3 separate regions of the Homo sapiens genome follow, and all the other regions are linked to region 1. Evidence: promoter capture Hi-C in human tissues and cell types (Jung and others, 2019). All regions are on one chromosome and are shown on one strand. Each heading gives the region's core, a stretch centred on a gene start or on the middle of the fragment in contact. The rest is flanking DNA. Distances are from core to core; before and after follow the strand shown.

Evidence for each region. Contacts are between HindIII fragments. The study calls those that stand out against the background at their distance.
Region 2: a fragment that was not itself captured here is called in contact with the fragment with the promoter of PTPRR in region 1 in 2 of the 25 tissues and cell types used here (hippocampus and spleen).
Region 3: a fragment that was not itself captured here is called in contact with the fragment with the promoter of PTPRR in region 1 in 2 of the 25 tissues and cell types used here (dorsolateral prefrontal cortex and hippocampus).

The regions. Positions count from the first base shown.
Region 1 is chr12:70,919,469-70,923,587 of GRCh38, forward strand. PTPRR (protein tyrosine phosphatase receptor type R) reads right to left here and starts at 1,270. Exons shown (of 14, transcript NM_002849.4): 1 at 865-1,270. The coding sequence starts at 922. The HindIII fragment of the contact is 3,890 bases long and covers 1-3,611 here.
Region 2 is chr12:70,882,609-70,886,427 of GRCh38, forward strand. All of the region lies in intron 2 of PTPRR (protein tyrosine phosphatase receptor type R), which reads right to left. Among named protein-coding and RNA genes, the nearest start is that of PTPRR, 36 kb to the right of the region's middle. The HindIII fragment of the contact is 3,613 bases long and covers 306-3,819 here.
Region 3 is chr12:70,979,832-70,983,713 of GRCh38, forward strand. No RefSeq gene overlaps it. Among named protein-coding and RNA genes, the nearest start is that of PTPRR, 61 kb to the left of the region's middle. The HindIII fragment of the contact is 3,125 bases long and covers 190-3,314 here.

The DNA.
Region 1 (4,119 bases), core at 20-2,519:
TGTATGCAAAAAGCAGGGACACCACATATAATATCTCTCAGGTACTTCCCAAGGTTTGCTTCCTCACGAGACTTGATATTGATTCTGGTGCCTCAAATCTATTTATATTTGGGAGCAGTCTCACTGTTACTCTTGGTTACACCTTATCAAATCTGTCCGAGGGACAGTGCCTAACCCAGGGTTGTCAGCTTTGGAACTGTAATTGTTTTTTTTTTTTTTTTTTTTTTTTTTTTTTTTAATATGCCAGCGGACGCTAGCCACGGTGCTGAAAGAGACAAGAGGATTCTATTTGAAACCTTTTCTTCCTCTTATTGGCTTAGAAAATTCGAGTGACAAGAGCAGGGGCCAAAGGAGCCTGGTGCAGCATCACTAATGTGAACCATGTATTTCGATCTTTTGGGCGGAGATGTGGTCCATCAGGTTACAGCCAATGCCTTCCTATGAGCGCTCGCTAGACCAAGAGACCTTATGAATGTAGTAGCCGCTGCAGTAGAAAAGGTTACATCTAGCAGGATGTCTTATCCCTCTCCTGAAAAATTGACAGTTAAGTGCATAGCCTAGAAACAAGAGCAGGGAATCTAGACGGAGGGGAGGCGAAGGGGGGAGCAAACCTGTATTCATATTGAAAATGTTCACTATTTTCGTATAAAGTAAAGAAAAATCAAGAGCTAATTTTAGGTTAAGTTTTCGGCCTCAGTTTTCCAACAGGTGCACGACTCCCTCACCCCTTCCCTGTCAGGTACTGTCCTGTTTTACCTTTTTAGAAAGGCTTTCTTCGCAAGGCAAGCTTTTCCTAGAGTCCTTAAGCATGTGCAGTTTCCCATCTCATGCACAGCTCCGGCTCTAAGCCTGGCAACCCCTTACCTGCAGCGTGAAGATTAAGGAGCAGGCACAGCGCAGGGAAGCAGACTGCTCTCCGCATAGTGTTTGCATTGAGAGGTGGAGGAGAAACTCCACCACGACCCCACTTCAGGTAAAGTGCTATTAGAAAGAGCCACCGCCAAGGGTCTTCTAGTCTCCGGGATTCAGGTCCTCGGCTGGGGTTTGCAGAGCAGTCAGTCTGTGGCGCCGACAGAAACCAGCACCAGCTTCAACCTCCCTAAGAGAGGGAGAGAGGAAGAGCAGTAGGAGGTTGCGGGTAAGGGGAACAGAAGCGCTCAGAGGCGGCAAATGCCTGGCCTTCTGGACGCCCAGAAGCCAAGGCGGAGACGGCAGGGTGGACTCCGCGCCAGCCCAGCAGCCCAGCAGCAGCGCCGCGGCTACTGAGCATGCCCAGCGCCGGCCCTCACGAGGCAAGGGAATTTCAAAGTGAAATTCCGCTTCTCCGGGTCTTAGCGGCGGCTTGGAGCAGAGTAGGCTCCATCGCTGGGGTGGTGGTTGGGGGTGGGGGTGGGGGTGGGGAAGGGGGAAGTGCGGGGGAGACACTTGCTGTGGTTACTAGGGACCCAGCGTCCATCACAAATCCGAAGGTGGGGTGTAGCTGAGTGAGAGTAGATGGGGGCACGACCACAGGAGTCAGAGGAGGGAGCTGATGACATTGTCAACCATGCCACCCACCCTACTCTTTCCCCAAATCTTGATTTACACGTGGACCGAGCTCACTGCTGGGAATTGGCATTTGCAGATTGACCAGCTTCCCAGGACTCGCCTACAGGAATAGAGGTGTCTTCCACTGCTGAGCATTCTGGCTGCTCGGGGGAAGCGTTCCCAAGGCAGCTTGCTTGGTGTAAGCAGTAACCATGTATCTTGGGGGTGACTTCGTCCTTCCTACAGCTTCCCCCTCTTTGCTTCTCTTTCCACTCTTTCCAGCTCAATGACTGTATTTAAACTTTCTTCTGACTCAAGTCCTCACAGTGACAGAAAGAAGTGAGAAGATACTTTTAGACTAGTAGAATATATCCATGTAATTGAAGCACAAGAAGGCACCTTTTTGTTTCGTGGAGGTAATTAACTTTAGTTTCCCTTTTACTCTTTAAGGTGAAAGATAATGGATCACGTCAGTGCCTGGACTCATCCGGCCCAGCTCTGTGTCTCTAGGGAGGCTACCACAGTCTGCCATTAGATGGTTTTTTATCCCTCCATCTAAGTCTTTGGAGTGTGGAAAGCCTTATTAGTCATGGCTAATTGCTGCTAGTCAAGTCAAGAAGTCCCTCAGCTAGACTTCTCTTTTAACTATCCCAGGGCCTCTGCCCTTTCTGCCTCTGTGTCTTTATGGACACTGTTGCCTCTTTCCCATTTTCCTCCACTTGCACCACCACCACACTAGTTTTCGAAGGTGTAATGTTGGTCTCACTTTTCCAGAAAGCCCTAACTCTAACTAACTCTAGATTACAGTGATCTTTCTCTTCCACAACACTTGTTTAGCCGTGCCTCATATTATTCTTTCAGACAGTTCATTTATCTGTGGTTTGTTCTACAGCACATTGAAGTCTCCATAAGAACTGCTGAGTTTTGTATTCCATTAACTTGAATAAAGTTGTCCTAGCCAAATAATTGGGGCTAACAAGTGCCCATTGAGTTGAGCTGCACATCTCATTCAGTGCTTTCTTTCTCCATCCTCTGTGAATTGAGACAACTAATGGGAAATAGGCTATCCACCAGAGCTTAAATTAGGTGGGACCTTATAAGATCAGAGAGCCCAGGCGGTACCATTTATTTCTTTTATGATTTATGTCATCTTCAGCTCTGAGAGACAAGGCCAGGAAGCACTCCAACAAGTGGGAGAAGGGGACAATGAGATGTACTTTTAATATCTTGACAGGCCTTCTCTGCTGAAAATAGAGACATATCTCCATGTCTAGCCCCTCTCTAGCAACGTGCTCCACCCCCTACTCCCCCATGCGTGTGGCACACTCCATTTCTGTGGCACTATCATTTCATCCCAAACCACTCTAAGCTGCAACCTCTTCTCCTATTCCTGATTCACTGTCCTCCAGTTTGCTTTTCCCGTATCACTTTCTAACAAACCAAAATAATTACTTATAAAATCTATTGTTTAGTATCTATTTCCCTACTCCCCCCCGCAAAACAGAATTTGAGCTCCAATGTTGAAGAACTTTGATGACTTTATTGATATGTCCCAACTCCCTAGAGCAATGCCTCATGCAAAATAGATACTCAAAAATGAATAAATGAAAATGATAGTTGACAAAGTTCAATACTGACAATTAACTCTTTGAAATTCTTACTGAGTCAACCTTTGAGATAATTTATTTAGCATTCTGTAAAGCTTAGAAGAATAACTCTTCTCATCTAACATCTGTTACTAGAAATGCTGCAGGGCTGGAGGTTAGGGAAAAATAATTGTATCCCACTTACAATAGGTCTATTTTTCTTATTTTCTTGTTTCCTAAAATAACTAATTATCAAACTTACATAGATCTCCAAGAATAAAATATACTTACTTATGGTAATGAAACAATGCTGCAGTAATGTTCTGAACCCCTTCCTTTTCCACAGATAATTCCAACATTTATTGGTGGGGCATTTAAAATTCCCATTATTATAATTGACTATGACTTTGCCAAAAAGCATCCTGCTGGCAATGTATTTTGTTCAGGGCTGCAGGTAGCTGAATTGTTAAACTATGCATGAAAATTCCGTTAGCAGCAAAAATTTCCAATTTCCAATTTGGCTGGATATATCATTAGAATAGTTAGTTCAGCATGGTAAAAATAACCCTGAGTGGGCTGTAATTTTGGTGACTAGACATTCATTATTAATTTACTTAGAAATGATAAAGTAACGAAAAAGGTCATATTCCTATGTGAGTCAATCTAATATCATACTTGTAACGGCTTCAATTCACTTTTTCACTAATTGGCTAATTCACTCATTGCTGTTCGTGAAGTCAAACAGCAATGAATGAATTAGCCAATTAGTGAAAAAGTCAACCACTTAACTCATACAGAAATATTCTGAGTCGATAGGTGCTGTTTTTCCTTAACTGTGATCTAATGCTAGTGAAGGTGACTTGGTGTTTTGGAAAAAAAGCTTGGTTAAAACACTGCATCAGGGTTTTAAAAAGTTAGCTGTAATTCAAAGAAGCATGGAAATTACTATGAGAGAACTATACAAATTAGTAGTGGCCTACAGAGCTATGTCATAAAAGAATCATTT
Region 2 (3,819 bases), core at 862-3,361, 36 kb before region 1:
AAGACCCATTTTTTTTTTAATTTGCCAAAATCTTCATCTGAAACCTATTGCTGGTCTTCCTTGACAGACATTTTCTAATGTTTAGGCTTATATTACTTGTTGCCAACACTGATCCAAAGAGGCTTCATATCCTCAAGTGTTTGTAAGCTCCAGATCCTCATCTATTCCGCTACTGGTTTGAGTCCCAGTTATATTAACGAGTTACTTTGATGTATACTTTGCCTATAAAATAGCAATAACATTTCTCTTCCTATAGTTACTATTTATTGAGTGTTCACTATTCACTAGGTGACATGTAAGAGTATTCAATGTGTTTTATCATTTAATCTATACACCTCTATGAAGTTGGTAATTTTAATCCTCCCATTTAAAAGATAATGAAGGCTGGGCAAAGTGACTCATGCCTGTAATCCCAGCACTTTGGGAGTCTGAGGCTGGTAGCAGGAGTTTAAGACCAGCCTGGCCAACATAGTGAAACCCTGTTTCTACTAAAAATACAAAAATTAGCTGAACCTGGTGGCAGGTGCCTGTAAACCCAGCTACGGGGGAGGCTGAGGCAGGAGAATCGCTTGAACCCAGAAGGTGAAGGTTGCAGTGAGCTGAGATCTCACCATTGCACTCCAGCCTGGGTGACAAGAACAAAACTCCATCTCAAAAAACAACAATAAAAAAGATAATGAAACACAGACTTAAGTCACATAAAAATTAGAGGGGAAACAGCAAGGATTTGAGCCACTGTATTATGCTATGGCTATTTTTGAATTACTTCCAATGTTTTCCCCAGTCTTACCACTTCTCTGGTAAGCCGAATGATTACCTAAGTGTGCATAATATCTTAACAATAACAATATCTTCACACAGCTTAAGCTAGGACCTTGGCTTATTTTGATAATTTCTCCACATTCCCCCCTAGTTCTCTCCTTTAACCTGCAGATAATTTCTTTCTTTTTGGTGCAAGTATTTAAGAACTGTTGTGTGCCAAGGACTATACTAAGTTAAATGAAAAGCTTCGTGCTTTTCATTTTTTGAGTTTTTTTAAATGTCAGTAGAAACCGTGTTACTTTATTAAAATACTGAGTTTTATTTCACATGTCTTAATAATGTCACAGCCAGATCTGGGGTCTTATACCCTCCCAGGAAAAAAAATGAAAGGATTAGTTAGGAAGCAGACTTTGATTGTCATGAAAATCTAATATTTGGCTGAAATCTTTTGAGTGGTCAAGATTGCCAGAAGAATTTATACAATGAAGCTCCTACATTTCCATCTGTTCCTTCTCTGTGTTGGTCCTCTTTCCACTTCTGCCACAGTAATAGCTTATTCTATTCTATTGTTTCCCTCTGTCTGCATTCTCTCACCCACTCAAACAGTGTTAACAGCCATGCATGGGTCTGTGGATATCTCCCAGGTCTAAAGCTTTGGCTGTGACCTGTCTGAACTCTAGACTCACATTCCAATTGTAGACTAGCACTGGGAGTTAAGCTTCTTAACTTTGCCCAGGGAGAGAACCTTCTAGGGACTTTTAGCTTTTGTATTTTTCCTAAAAAAAGAGAAAGAAACACGTTGCTTCTACCACCTGAGTCATAGGGATCACAGTGAGAAACCTAAGCATTTTGCTAAGTGGTGCCAATCCCATCACTCAGGAGCAGGGCCAAATGCCCCGAAAGCCCAGTATAATCATCCATTAGCAGTGAGATTTTTAACTGAACTATTGAATAGTAACAAGATAGTAAGCATGATTTACAGGCACTTATGATTACAGATAAATAGACAAAGAAGGAAAGAAAGAAAAGGGGACAAAGTCATTAACAAAAGGCATACGGGAGAACAGTTCTTAACAACTGGAAAACCAAAGGCAATTTTAGAGAGAACTGAAAGCTCCAAGTAAATATTTGCTCCAGAGAAAAGATACTATTTTTGTTTATCTGCAGATCCCCCTTTTTGACATTATTGTGGAAATTTTGGATTAAAAATTTTTTTGCCAGGCGCGGTGGCTCACGCCTGTAATCCCAGCACTTTGGAAGGCCGAGGCGGGCGGATCACGAGGTCAGTAAATCGAGACCATCCTGGCTAACACGGTGAAACCCCGTCTCTACTAAAAAATACAAAAAAAAAATTACCCGGGCGTAGTGGCGGGCGCCTGTAGTCCCAGCTACTCCGGAGGCTGAGGCCAGGGAATGGCGTGAACCTGAGAGGCGGAGCTTGCAGTGAGCCGAGATCGTGCCACTGCACTCCAGTCTGGGCAACAGAGCAAAACTCTGTCTCAAAAAAAAAAAAAAAAAAAAAAAAAGTTTTGCAGGCTCCAACATAAAGAGGAACAGCACTGTCCTTCTTCCTCAAAGATAAGTTCTGAAATAGAATGTTTTGTATCTTCTAATCAGAACATTCTCTTTTTTTGTTCTGTTTACTCCTTTGGCTATTTTAAATATTTCACTTTACTTAAGATTTAAGGTCTAAGATCTTTGAAACGTACATAATTTGCCCAAATGAAAAAAATTAGATCCTATATTACAATTATATGAAGAATTTATAAAGAAAGTAGCTTTCCCTGAGATAAGCTCACCAAATTCTCTCAGTAATATTAATTGGGCAGTTGCTTAGAAAATAATACTATATTAGATATTGTCATCATTTATTTCTCCTTCTCAGGATGAGTGGCCTTAAATCAGTGACTGTATTGGGAATATAAGTCAATATATAAAATGTGAAAGCTACTATACAATGAAATTTTTAGCAGCTGTTAAAAGTGATGCTGTACAATGATACTTAACGACTTGGAAAGCCATCCATAATGTAAACATAAAACTAAAAAATTACAAAGCACATATATGCAGATTTCATACTTTTGTAAAAAATACATGCATACCTGTACATAGAAAAGAATATATAGAGAGAGCAAGATTACCTTAGTTATTTAACAGTTAAGGATTTTTTTTTTTTTTTTTTGAGACGGAGTCTTGCTCTGTTGCCCAGGCTGGAGTGCAGTGGCACAATCTCAGCTCACTGCAAGCTCTGCCTCCTGGGTTCATGCCATTCTCCTGCCTCAGCCTCCCGAGTAGCTGGGACTATAGGCGCCCACCACCATGCCCGGCTAATTTTTTGTATTTTTAGTAGAGATGGGGTTTCACCGTTAGCCAGGATGATCTCGATCTACTGACCACGTGATCCACCAGCCTTGGCCTCCCAAAGTGTTGGAATTACACGCTGAGCCACCACGCCTGGCTGGTTATGGATGGTTTTTATTTCCGCTTTTCCTTATCTAAACTTTCTAAATATTCTACAACTGTATGAAAATGCATAATTTTTGGAATTAGAACAAAAATATTACTAAGTTATTCCCTGCTCATTCACTGCACCTGGAGAGCAAGGCCTAATGACAATCAATTAAACCAGCTCTCTTAAGACTTGAGTCATCCTAATAGTGAATGTGTATGATCCCAAACAAGCAGATGCACTGAGTGGTCCAGGGTTGTAACCTCACACAGACATTGCTGAGGCTTAGCCTCTAGCTTTTCCAGAGTGCATTCCAGCATCGTCCTTGCTGCTTTAATAGCTAGAAATGGTGAAAAGCAACAGATGGTGACAGTTATGACTGTCAGGATGCCAAGCTCAAGAACGGAATTTCTACTTCAGGACTATTTTGCAAGGATACAGTAATAGCTGGGGAAATCTGAGCATAAAGCTTTCTGCAATGCTAGTCTGGCGATTATATAAGAAGGTGATTATATAAGAAGATCTTATAATTTAATAGGAAGCATTAACATTAAGTTAAGAGCAGAACAAAAGTTCAACCAAACTTCTGGAGTAGATCATTGAATTTC
Region 3 (3,882 bases), core at 502-3,001, 61 kb after region 1:
GTACATTTAAATGTATTTTTCTGTGCATATGCTGTATTATACATGTGCCAAAATGTTTACACACATTTTTAAAAGAAAATAATGTACATTATATGTTTATGAAAGCACATACAGGCAATAACAGTGCTAACCTTCAGAGGTTAAACTTAGAGATGCATAACAAATATAATTGTGTCTGATAATGTATATCTTCAGCTATTTGTCATAATCTTCACTGATTTTTTTGAGCAGTGAACTTCTATGTCATGATGTAAATGACAATAAACTCAGCACAAAATGCAAGTTTTATTTCTTTAAGAAATTAACTTATTAATAAATATGCTAATACATAAGCATATATGCTTATATAATAATGGTTAATTTGTTCTTATTAACTCATACTTAATAATATAATTTAATAAAGACAAATTAACCATTAGGAAAAGGATGCTTTTTATAACTCAATTAAAAATAAGATGAATCCTATTAGTCTGAAAGAGACCACTATGTAATATTAGCCATGTATTCTGGAATATGTTGTATTTTGTTGGCACAAAATGAGTAGGAATGTAACTAAAGAGACATCTTTACAGGTCTATCCAGCCAAAAGCAAGTGTTTTTTTTTCTCAGAATTGAGTGAAATAGTTCTCTATATGTATTGAGATGTGCTTCTTTGTAGTTCAGGTATGCTTTTTGAGAAAGATCAGAAATACTCCCAAGAGAGCATGAACTTCAGAATCATGTAGAGATGGGACTCTGGGCAAGTTATTTCAGTTTTCTGAGCCTCAGTTTCCTTATTGTTAAAAAAGGAGATAAGATTAGGGAACGCTCAGGTTTGCTATGGTTATTTACACTGAGGAAATAAGATATGGCATATGATACACACATACTAAATGCTAGAAACTCGCTTTCCAGTTAGGGTCTTTTACAACCTTGTGACTCCATATCTAATATAAACGTAAAATCTTTGGTTTAGAATTTAATACATTCATGTTATACAAAATTCTTGCACCCAACCTCACTTTAGAAATTCTAGAAATAAGGAATAATATTAAAAATAAACTCATAATGTTACAGTCAGGCATTTTTACAAATAAGTATGTGTATTACAAACTTCAGTTTGAATCAAATTTAATGCATATATTGATTACCTTATACAAGCCATTTAGGAAGATGTCAAAAATATAACTTGAGGAAAATCTGATGATCTTCAACTCTATTTCAGGGCCAGGAGTAATGAGTTGTAAAAAACAAAACACAAAACAAAAACTGTACTTAAAATCATACAAAGTGGTTTCTATTCTTATGAATTTCACTAATCAGCTATGTGACCTTATACAGTTCATGTATCTTCTTTGAGTATGAGATTTCTTTACTCTAAAATGTGGCTAAATGCTTGCTTTGCTTTAAAACAAAAAACAAAACATTTTTTATAAGAATTTAATGAGAAAAAAGTGAAAATAGCATTTGATTAGGAATCTAAAGATCTTTGGTTTAATGAAAAAAATGAAAAAGACATTTGGTAATTTTGGACAAAAATAAAAGGAGTGTATCTACTTTAAATATTCAATGAATCTCCTTCAGAAAAAAAATTTCTAAAACACTGGAAGGGTAAAAACAAATAAACGTTTCAAAAACACTATGCTGTTTAGAGCTTGGTTTGCTTCATCATTTTCTCCCTGAAGTTTTTATTCTCCCCCACATAGACAAGAGTCAGGAGGGCACTCTTTAGGGGATAACAGCAAACCTTCCACATTGCAAGGCAGAAACCCAAGCCTGGCCCTGAGCAGATCATGAAGTCTCTCTAAACCTTGGTATTACATCTACAAAATCAAATGGTTAGGATACAATTCCTCCAAAGTTCTTTCTAACTCAAACTCTCTATGATTGCATTTGAGGAAGAGCTTCAATCATGGGACAATGACTGTCACTTTATATTAGCATAATAAAATCTCCTTGTGAACCAGATTTAGGATAAAATAAGAGTGAAACAGAACTTGAAATATTCGACAAACTTAATCAGAATTAGCAATTTTAATGCTTGCAAGTCCACAAAACATCTGTGCAAAGCTTTTCTCTAAATGAAACAGTCTACGTGAAAGCCCTTTGGAAGGCATAATATGCTATACAAATGTGAAGTATTATGAACATCATCATCTCCTTCAGTTGAGCCCATAGACTTGGCATAAGCAGCCCATACATTTCAGCTGTAACCAATCACCCTGGGTGGGCATGGCGGGGCGGGAGGAAGAGAAAAGGGAAAGTGGATTTGTTTCTCCTGCTTTGTAGTTTCTCCTTATTCTCTGAGCCTGTATGTCTGTGACATAGTATAAGCAGGTTTTTCTTGTTTATTTTTGCAAGCATTAAGAGGTGATTACTTTCTAATAGATAGACAAATAGCTAATCAAGTCTTTTTATGTGTTTAGTTTTAGGGAATAATCACTTTAAATTTGCATTTCTTTATTTGAGAGATTTTTAGACAAAGCAGGTGGTATGGTACATATTTTACCATCGTATCCAATATTTTCCATATGCTAGCTTATTTCTTTTCTAAAATAAACTGTAATTTGTATAAAATCCTTCTAATTGGTAAGTGCTTTAAAACAAGAATTGCTAGTTATGAGTCACTGCAATGATGTTAGACTGCGTGGGAGTTTTATCTGCATTTGGCCATAAGAGAAACTGAGGAGTTGACACAAAGAGCAATAACTAGACCTCCCAGCCAGTCTGCAGAATGCCAAATATTTGGAAAATAATAATGGTAGAATTATAATTTGGGAGATGCCTGAGAATGAACAAGCCTCTCTGCATAGATACCTAATCCCCAGCAAGTAAATTTGTGCTGTCTTAAAATCATATAACCTGGCTTAATGGCTTATTAGATGTTGCTTTTTAAATTGAATGTTGAATTGCATGAAGCTTTTAGAAAATAATTGTGAACAATTACAAATTAGGTTAAGAAGAAAAGGCAGGCCTAGCACTTGCTTAAAATTGTATTTTCATCAGATTTTATCTTTCTCATAAGAAGATAATTGCGTAAACATTGCATCTTGGCCTGGGGATTGAGGATGAGAGTGGCGACTGGAGAGAATCTTGCCTTTACGTTTTTCTTCTCCAATTTCCAGTCTTGGATAAGCCATTAGTCAAACTCCCTCATCGTAAGGGAATGATAATGTCAATATCAAAACTTCCAGAGCTGTTGATTTCCCCAAAGGCTTACCAAAATTAACTGCTCATCTCAGCTTGGGGTAGAGGATTTGGAGCTTGAAATACAAGTCTTTCTCAAACTTCAGCATTTCCCATGTATCCTCTGATAATTATAAAAGGAAGTCAACCAGTGCCGTTGGAATGCACATGATGTCAGTTGTTAAGTGATTAACAGTAATGTTTAGAGCTTCTGTGGCCTGGAGAGCTTTTAATGGCATTACGTAGCAAGTGCCATAGTATTACCCAGAAGGTGAAAGGAAGATCAAATTGGTGAGTAGGAGAATGAGGGCTGTTTCAATTTAAACTACAGCCAGAGAAACTCCTTTCTGCAATAAGAAACCCAATCCTTCACAAAGGCATGGAAGAGGAGAAAAGTTAACAACCAGTTATACTGTGGGCAGGGAATTTGTAGCACAAAGCATTACACAGTGATTCCCTGAGTAAACAAAAGAAACCTAAAAAACATCAGTGGTCAGAACTTTGAAGCAAGAGGTAGACATTCCAACACAGACTATGGCAGGGAAATAAGAACAAAATGAATCAAGCTTGAATCAATATAATTAATAAATTATGCTATCAGAACCCACTGCATCATTAAGATAGTTTATTACATACAACCTTCTATATGTAGCAGGGTAAAAATAATTTTAAAATTTGTTAACAGTAACAGCTAAATTTACTCTTAGGGTGAGAACA